Regions from separate parts of the Homo sapiens genome. Here region 2 is linked to region 1. The links are contacts of gene promoters, found by promoter capture Hi-C in blood cells and fetal thymus (Javierre and others, 2016). All regions are on one chromosome and are shown on one strand. Each heading gives the region's core, a stretch centred on a gene start or on the middle of the fragment in contact. The rest is flanking DNA. Distances are from core to core; before and after follow the strand shown.

Evidence for each region. Contacts are between HindIII fragments. The CHiCAGO score rates a contact against its expected background, and 5 or more counts as called.
Region 2: the fragment with the promoter of UCK2 here is called in contact with a fragment that was not itself captured in region 1 in 1 of 17 cell types (activated CD4 T cells); the score reaches 5.2 in activated CD4 T cells.

What each region holds. Positions count from the first base shown.
Region 1 is chr1:166,485,623-166,490,119 of GRCh38, forward strand. LINC01675 (long intergenic non-protein coding RNA 1675) reads right to left here and starts at 4,417. Exons shown (of 3, transcript NR_146890.1): 1 at 4,239-4,417. RefSeq lists an enhancer at 4,420-4,497. The HindIII fragment of the contact is 5,186 bases long and covers 1-4,497 here.
Region 2 is chr1:165,824,917-165,829,490 of GRCh38, forward strand. UCK2 (uridine-cytidine kinase 2) reads left to right here and starts at 2,698. Exons shown (of 7, transcript NM_012474.5): 1 at 2,698-3,016. The coding sequence starts at 2,918. RefSeq lists silencers at 2,487-2,736, 2,817-3,296, 3,357-3,586 and an enhancer at 3,052-3,605. The HindIII fragment of the contact is 2,018 bases long and covers 2,414-4,431 here.

The sequences.
Region 1 (4,497 bases), core at 695-3,194:
AAGTGCAAAATTGTACATTGAAAACACTACATAAATTTAAAAATAAACCAGCCCTCATAGCATCTATTTCCATAAACTCAAAACAAGATTTTAACAAGAATGCCACTAGCTGACTCAGGTACATTTCTAAGTGAAAAAGAATTTGATCACCATCATATGTTAGTAACAAGAAAAGTATTCAACCATCATAGCTGATAGGAATGTGGAGGTCAAGTTTGCCTTCATTTTACAGATGATGACTTTGGGATGGGGAAGAGACTCGGCCTGTGTTGTAGGTGAGACTTGTTGCAGAGCCTCACTAGAAAGGAGTTCAACAGCTCAGGGTTCCTCCACTTTGCCAGCCTCACCCTGAGCCAACTGCCCACATCAGCCCTCCCACTTCTTGCCCCTAACTCACTTTTCAGCCCACCCCTCTTCCCCCTGAGCACCCACCAACGAGGCTCTAAAATCACCAGTGAACTTTCAACTGCCAAAGCCAATAGGCACTTTCTGATTTTAGTCTTTCTTTAGCATCTGCCACATAATTGCTCCTGCCTTCTTTACACTGTCTCTTCCTTGGTCATTGATGTTCCCATAGTTGCCTGATTTCCTCCTACCATTCTTGTCATACCTAGTTTACTGATTTTCTGAGTCTTTTTCCTCTGTCCACCATCAAATATTAGTGTTTATATATTCATTTTCACACTTACTTAGACCTTAGTTCATGCCAGGCACTGCTGTCTTATAAATATACATTCATTTTATATAACACATGACAACCTTAGAAAATAGATTGGGGAAACTGAGGCACAGGAAGGCCGATCAATTTGGTGTGCTGCTTCCTACCATGTTATGCCATCTCTGAGATTACTAGAGCTCCCCTTGTGGCCCTCCTGGCTCCTGACTCAGCCTGTTCTCATGAGGTATGGTCTTAGTATGATCTGTATCCCAAATTTGTATGTCTAGACTTGACCCTTCTCTTGAACATCACATTCCAACAGCACATTGGATATGATAATCTGCATTTACCACCACAAGCATCACAAATGTAATGGCATCCAAACTGAATTCATCATCTCTCCATCCCCAACTTGCCCATTACTCTGTCTTATTATCTCAGGTGTGTGACGTTGGACAAATATCTTAGTGCTCTGGGCCTCAGTTTCTTCATCTGTATAATTACCAGGTTGAACTAAATAATCTCCATGAATGTTTTTACTTTAACATTCTTTAATGCTCTAAACTTCATGTCCCTGCACTGTCTCCAGGTTTTACTCTCTCTCTCCCTTTTAGACTTCCTTTATTCATTCACCAATTCTAAAAGCAATAATTGAGCATATTCTGTAAGCCAAACACAGGGCAGGACACTTGTTGAATAAGATAAGACCCCTGACCTCAGAACTGGAGAGAGGAATGTGAGTGAAGAAAGGCAGTTCATACACTCCAACAGGGTGGCCATTGTTGTCACATGTGTCCAAACAGAGGCCTGGAGGTTGGAGGGGTCACCACTGAGCCAGCCACCAAATCAGAGCCTGCCACCCAGCTTGTTGCTTCATTCTCCCTTTCTTCCACAACCAAGCAATCCAGCAGTCCCTGAGCTCTGTATCTCTGCCTCCTAAATGCCAGTGTTGTCTGCCTCCTCCATCTTTGCACGCCCTTACCTTCACTTGTCACTTACCCCCTTTCATTCTGATCACGTTTACTGCTTGATCTTTTCTCCACTATTTATAGGGTGATATTTCTAAAACCCCAACCTGACCATGGCACTGTCTTGTTTGAAAGCCTCCAGTGATGCTTCATGTCAGTAAGAAAAGTCTTCCTTATGACAAATACCACCTTCGCCAGCAGACCCCTGGGAACCTGTCTTCTCTCAGTACCTTGGCTTTTGTGCTGCACTCTGAGAATGCTTTAAGGACCTGTGGTTCCCTGCACATGGGTCTACTGCGGCTCACTTCTGTGCCTGTGCATGTGCAGATTCCTCAGTTGTTCTGACTCTTATCCATGTGATAAATTTCTATTGATTCTTAGAAACCTAGCTCAGATAACATCTCTTTTGAGAATCTTCTCTGTTCCTGCCTCTCTTGAAGTTATACATTTTTATTTCTTGTGACACTTACATTTCTTAAACGTATTTATGTTACTGCCTATAACATACTGCATTGTAATTATTGCTTAATGCTTGTCTCCCAGCTAGAGTATTGAGTTTGTTGGGTTTGGACGGTGCCAGGTTAATATTTGTTCCTTTAGCAATGCCTGGAGAGCAGCCTATACTAGGCTCACAGTAAAGGTTTGTTGACTGGATGACTGAGGGAAAAGCCACAAAAGCAAGGACTGGAGTATGTTAGAACATCCCTACAAGAGTCCAAAATCTGAAGTGACAACAATGCAGGCAGTTTTGGCTACATCATTGGCATAAAAAGAAAGGACAGCAGAAAGCAGCTCCAGGATTTGGAGTGAGAGGTGATGGTCCACTCCCATATATGCTGAGCCCTTCTGCACCTTCTCTTCTCACATGCATCTGTGTTTGCCCCAGGAGATGCATCAGATCACACTAGACTCTTTAGAGACACCTACAGAGCAATGTCAGCCACCTTCTCCCAGTGTTTTACTATTTGCCATTTAAGGACAGCATCAGGAAATGGAAATCTGTTTATGCAGCAAGATAGGTCTGTGAAGGTAGATAATTGACTGACTCAGGCCCTTAAATATATAATTCGAGAAATAAATCTTCTGCAAATGGAGGGTGTTCCGAAGGCTTTGTATGTTTCAGAAGGGATGGGCAATGTTTAATTTGTTGTCTTCCATTTCTCATGTCCTCCCCTTGCCTCAAGTTAGCTTCCTGGGAAATTCTCCAAACATCAGTCAGAAGCTGTCCTAAGGTGGCCCTTGGGTGAGCAGGGTAGAGAGTGCTTCAGCCAGCAATCTTTTTTGCTTGCTCACTCAGGTAGGCATCAAGCCAGAAAGACAGGTTGACCCCAACTGTAATGAGCTAAGCCTTTTGTAGAAGCCTCATCTTCTCTGTATGTTTTGTAGCAGAGATGGGCTAGCGTTTTGCCACTACTACAAATACTACAGCCACAAAACCAGAACTCTGATACCAGAAAACTGCTAAAATCAATAGCCTTCTTTATTATAGAGGGTCAGCTTCTGGATTTCCTGTGCATTATGCAGCCATGAGTGAAGCCCAGCCCCATCCTCTTCCAACTTCCCCACCATCTCCCACCGGCACCCAACATACACTCAAGGCTCTGGCCTCCATAGGACAACAGTGACCACCTTGTTGAAGTATATGAGCTGCCTTTCTTCACTTACCTTCTCCCCCGTGGAAATTCTTATTTTATTCAACCGTATATCCTCAGGGCTCAGACCAGGGATTGGCCCATTGAATATGCTCAATTATTGCTTATAGAATTGATGAATGGATAAAGAACATTTAAAAGGGAGAGAGATAGAGAGTAAATCCCAGAGACAGTGCAGGGACAAGAGGTTTAGAGAATTAAAGAATACTAAAGTAAGAATGTTTATGGAGACTACTTAGTTTAACCCATTATTTATACACATAAGAGAACTGAAGCCCAGAGAGATAAAGAGATTTGTCCAAGAATATTCATATGGTCAGCAGTTGTTTACATTTGAAGGGAGTAAATGTAAATCATTTAGGTCTTAAGCCAATTCTTTCCCCCTTCCCTCCCTGTAACCACTGTTTCTCAATGAAGGATGAAGGTCCATAGAATTAATAATTTCATCTATACCACTAATATTTATTGAGCCTATATCATGTGCCAGGCCCTGTTCTAGGATCTAGGAATAGGGAAATACACAAAACCAACAAAAGCCCTTATGTTTCTGGAGCTTACAGATTCTGGCGAAAGAGGTTTATATAAAGTAAAATAGACAATTATATAGTTAGAAGAGATTGTGACATGGGAAAGAAAAGGGCGTAATAAGAAAGAGGAAGAGCAGGGGGCCAGAAAGGGACTTGGAAAGTGGCATTTGAGAAAGAGCAAAGACTTGAAGGTAGAGAGGGTGCATTGGCACTATTTAGGGGAAGGATGCCTAGGTCCAGGGAAAAGCAAGGGCAAAAGCCCTGAGTCAGGAGTGTGCCTGGCATGTCTGAGGTGTGGCATGTTCAGTGTGTGCAAGGGGAAGAAGTGAAGGGTGAGGTCATTGAGAGAGAGAGAGAGAGAGAGCAAGAGAGAGCTAGAGAGCCAGTTAAACTGTGAAGCTCCTCGTGGGCCACTGTAAGCAGCCTGACTTACTCTGTGAGATGAGAAGCCACTGGGAGGCTTTGAGCAGATGAGTGACTTATGAGTTCAGCAGGTAACTCTGACTGCTATGTTTTGAAGAGATTATAGGTGGAAATAAGACGAGAAGTCTTCTCCCAATGGAAGGTCTTTTCTCGATCGAAGGGTTCCTGGTCTCACGGGCTTCCAGGAATGAAGCCGTGGGCCGCAGTGGCGAGTGTTACAGCTAGATTAGAGAAACCCGCGGACCCAAAGAGGGTGCGGTGGCAAGATT
Region 2 (4,574 bases), core at 1,448-3,947, 660 kb before region 1:
TACTTGTTGGTGTCCTTACTTCCATATTCATTCATTTGTTCATTCATTTATCATGTATTAAATGCTTCCTACTTGCTTATCATTCTGCTCAGTGGGCCTGGGGGATGTAGAAATGAGACATTATCTCTTTTCATTTGTTGAGGCCCTACAAGGTGCCAGAACCGTTCCAGGCGTTGGGGATATAGTAATTAAAAACAAAACAAAACAAACCAAACAAGAAATGTATAAGCCAGTGTGGAGTAAGTCAATTAAAATTAACAAAGCAAAAGGAAGTAAGTCCTATAATAAAAATGCCTTGATGGATAGAGGGATGGGTAGATGACCAGTTATGTTTTAAAGCAAGTATATATATAGTACGATGTTAGTGATAGAGTCTAGGTGGTGGGTATACTGGTGTTTGCTGTAAAATCTTTCAACTGTGCTCGAAAATTTTTATGATAAAATATTATGGAATAAACACTATAGGAATGACAAGGAAGATGCAGATTTGAGAAAAGTTTATGAAAGACATGGCATTCTTTTTTTTTTTTTAAGAGACAAGTCGATAGAGGAGTGCAATGGCATGATCACAGCTGCAACCTCGAACTCCTGGGCTCAAGTGATCCTCCTGCCTCAGCCTCTGGTGTAGCTGGGACTACAGGTGTGCACTACCATGCCCAGTTAATTTTTGTACTTTTTGTGGAGATGGGGGTCTCATTATGTTGCCCAGGCTGGTCTCAAACTCCTAGCCTCAAGTGATCCTCACTCTTCTGCCTCCCAAAATGTTGGGATTACAGGCATGAGCCACCCCACTGGCCTTTGGCATTCCTTTATCCTCCTCCTCTTCTCCTTAACTACCTAATATCCCCATGCTAACCCTTAGCTGTAGGTTCAACTTCCAAATTCCAATGGGCTATAAAGAGTTCTACAAAAGTCCATGATGACTAATAAATCTATCTAGTAGAGAAAAGACCTTTTGGAGAAGAGGCTAACTCTAGGACCACCTAAAACTCACCCACTCCATAGCTATTTGGTAAGGCACCCCTTTAGGAAACTTCACCCAAATGCCTGCTTCTGGGTACCAGGTAGTGGCCACTCTCCCCATCTTTGTCTCCTGTCTGAGCTGCTACCGAGTTTGATGTTAGATGGTGACATAAAATACAGTAATTCCTAGATATATGCGGAGGGACTGGTCCCAGGACAGCCTACATGTAACCAAATCCACACATGAAGTCCCACAGTCAGTCCTGAGGAAACTGCACAAATATTGTGTTTTCCATCTGCCCTTGGTTTAAAAAAAAAGCTGCATAAAAGTGAACCTCACAGTTTGAACCAGTGTTGTTCAAGTGTCAACTTTAATTTAAAAGTGAAAAAAGTTTGTTTTCTCTGGTATCCTTTTTTTTGTTTTGTTTTGTTTTTGTTTTTGTTTTTTGACACAGGCTCTGGCTCTGCTGACCAGGCTGGAGTGCAGTGGGGAGATCATGGCTCACTGCAGCCTCGATTTCCCTGGCTTGAGAGAAAATTATTTTTTTCAAAATAATCTTCAATTTAAGGTAATTTACTAAGTTTCAAAAGATAATGCTATTGACGTAAATTCTGTTTTAGATTGTAGGCCCCATCAGCTCATTGATACTAGTCCCAAGTTCACAGGAGAAGAGACTGGAAGTTACTAGGCTAGTCCTGCCTCTCTCAGGTGTGTCCCAGCAAAACTTTTCTTTCCAGTTTCAGCGCTTTAGAAACCTTTTCTCTTCAAACACTAATACAGGGCCTAGACTGTACCAGCACTGTTCTGAGAACTTTACATACACTAATTCATTTAATTCTCACAAAAATCCTGGGATGTAATTGCCATTATTATTCCCATTTAACAGATAAGAACACTGAAGCACAGAGAGATTAAGTAACTTGCTCAGGGACCTGGATGTGAATGCAGAAATCTGGCTCCAGAGGTGGAGTCTGAAACTGCCTTTCTAAGTGACTGATTGCCAATCTCTGGAAAACCGTTCAATTGAAGATATTAATGGATCAAAATGTCAGTATGTTTTCAGATACCCTAACTCCATAGGAAGCTCAGTGTATGGGATGAGATACTGTGGTTTAGAAGGGAATTGCTTTTCCAACGGAGGGCACCCTTCAGATAAGCCCCTCAAATTGCCCTTCACTAGAGAGTCGCACGAGGACAGGCCTGCTAAAAAGGATGGCGCTGGGGGGTTTCCAAGACAGGAAATATCTAAAGCCAGCGGCTGACATATTATCTTGGCGAACGGGAGAAGGGAAAAAGAACCCTCATTTTTTGGAAACACAAGTTTTTAGCCTGGATAATGGGTAAATGACATTAACTCTTCGTTCCACACTAATCTTTCAAGCTTGTTCAAATTTTGCTTCTCAAACCTGGGCCATTCCTTCTTATCTAATCTGCCTATTATTTCCTTCAAGCTTTTTATCCCTTCTGAAAATAGGTGGTAGCATACCAAATTAAAATACAGAACAGCCTGTTTCTTTCCCCCAGGGTCCACTAGGGCGCGTCGGAGAAAGGGTTAACCGGGCGGGTGGGAGGGAAGGTCGGGCTCACACCTTTCGCAGAGACCTCGGGCGGCGGCGGGGCCCGGGAGGGGCGGAGGCTGGGGCCAGACGCCTCGCCGCCTCCGCCTCGGCGAATAGCAGCGCGCTGCCCGCCCGGATTGGAGCAGCAGCATCACGCTGACCTCTGCCTGGGATGTAAACCGGACCAGCCGCTGCGGGCAAAGGAAGGCTCTTGGCTCCTTCGGGAAACCCAGCCCCGTCACCGGGCTCCGAGCGGCTCGCAGGCGAGCGACAGCGGCCTCAGCCCCGGCAGCGCCCAGCGGCGGCTGCGGAAAGCGGAGGGAGTCCGACGCGGGCGCGGGCGGGGAGCGTGCGTCCGTTCGCACAGGCAGCGGGAGGAGGGGCGGCGCGAACCATGGCCGGGGACAGCGAGCAGACCCTGCAGAACCACCAGCAGCCCAACGGCGGCGAGCCCTTCCTTATAGGCGTCAGCGGGGGAACAGCTAGCGGCAAGGTACGGCGGGGCCCGGAGCCGCGCTCCCTTCCCGGCTTCTGTCCCTGGGCGGCGCATGTGGCCGGCGGCCGCGGGCCGTGTCAGTTGCGGCAGCCACCGCGTGGCCCGCGCGCCTCCGCTCCCGGCCGCGCTCCAGCGCCGAGTGCGCCCCGCGCGGCCTGGGGGCGCTGCGGCGGGGGCAGGCGAAGACTCGGGCCTTGGGGGTTCCGGGGGTACGCGGCCACGATCGCAGGGCGGGAGTGCTCCTCCGGCTTTTCTCCCCCCGCGTTAATAACTCGTGGCCGGGGTCCTATGGGGGAAGGGCAGGGAAGCGGATGCTTATTGTTTTGCAACTCCAGTGTCGGGGGAGAGGGCTTTCCGCAGGATCCCCCACTAACCCCCGATGGACTCCCTCAAGCCCCGGTCTGGCACAGACGTGCTCGCCCCGCGGCGCAGCCTGGTGCCGAGGGCGGAGCGAGCCGGGAAGCGCGGCCGAGAGGGCGAGGGTGGCGGGAACGCGCGAGGCGGCATCCCGGGGAAGGGGAGCCCAGTGTGGGGCTGCACGCAAGGGCTGGGGATTACAGGGGTTTCCGGGTAAAAGTCTGAGAGCCAAATAGGTGCCGTGACATCAATGAAACGATAATAGTAGGGGCTTCTGTTTTTTAAGGTTATAAGAGGAAACGTGGTCGGCTTCAATGAGAAAGTTGTACTGGCTCCAAGCTCTTCGGTGTCCAGGACGTACGCGTCTTGGATCCACGGAAGGGGGTCATCGTATGGGTGTCTGACCCTCTTAGGAGCCTGTTTCCTTTGTTTTATCCGCAAGGCAAGGAGAGACAAGGGAAATGACTTCCTAGCTTTACCCGGGGTTTTTTCTGCAGGTGGAGAAGGGTGGAGTCCTCCCAGATGGTTCTTTCTTTGCTCCCCTAACAGCCTTTAAGATGTGGCTACTTGTTTTTCCCACCGTTTAACACCCTCCAACTTCATTTGGAGCACGGGTTCCTCAAGGGATCCTGAGAGCTGGGTGCTGGGTGCTGGTTTGGAGAGGCAGGATGATGCTTCTCCCGGCTGGGGAGAGCAGAGCAGGAAGGCTGGTTGGCGCCATGAGGAAAGAGCCACGAGGTTTTAGCTCCCGAACCGACTCGTCAGTAGCCCCTCCTCCATGTTGGTTTTACATTTTTCCCTCCTGGTCTGGACTACTTTAGCGCAAGGAGCCCAGCCAGACACGGCGGCTGGCGCTGCTGGACTTCTTTATTGATGAAGTTGATCTCGTCCGTAGCTCCCGGGGTTAGGAATCGGCCTGCTTTAGGTCCTGAAGTTTCTGTTCTGTGTGCTCCCTGGTTGAAGGCTTTTAAAAAAATTTGTAATTTTTGAGTATGTTCTTTACTATGACTTATACTAGTAATTCAAAGCAAAACCAGAATGCTAGCCCTTCAGGAAGCTTTACCTGTTCTTTTAGAATTATTCTTGCTCTTCTGGCATATTCCTGTTGGATTGGGAGCATTTTTTGTTGTTGTTGTTCATGGCTGTTTTCCCAGCCCTCCTAGCACAATGCCTGCCTGGCATGTAGTGGGGTCCAAAT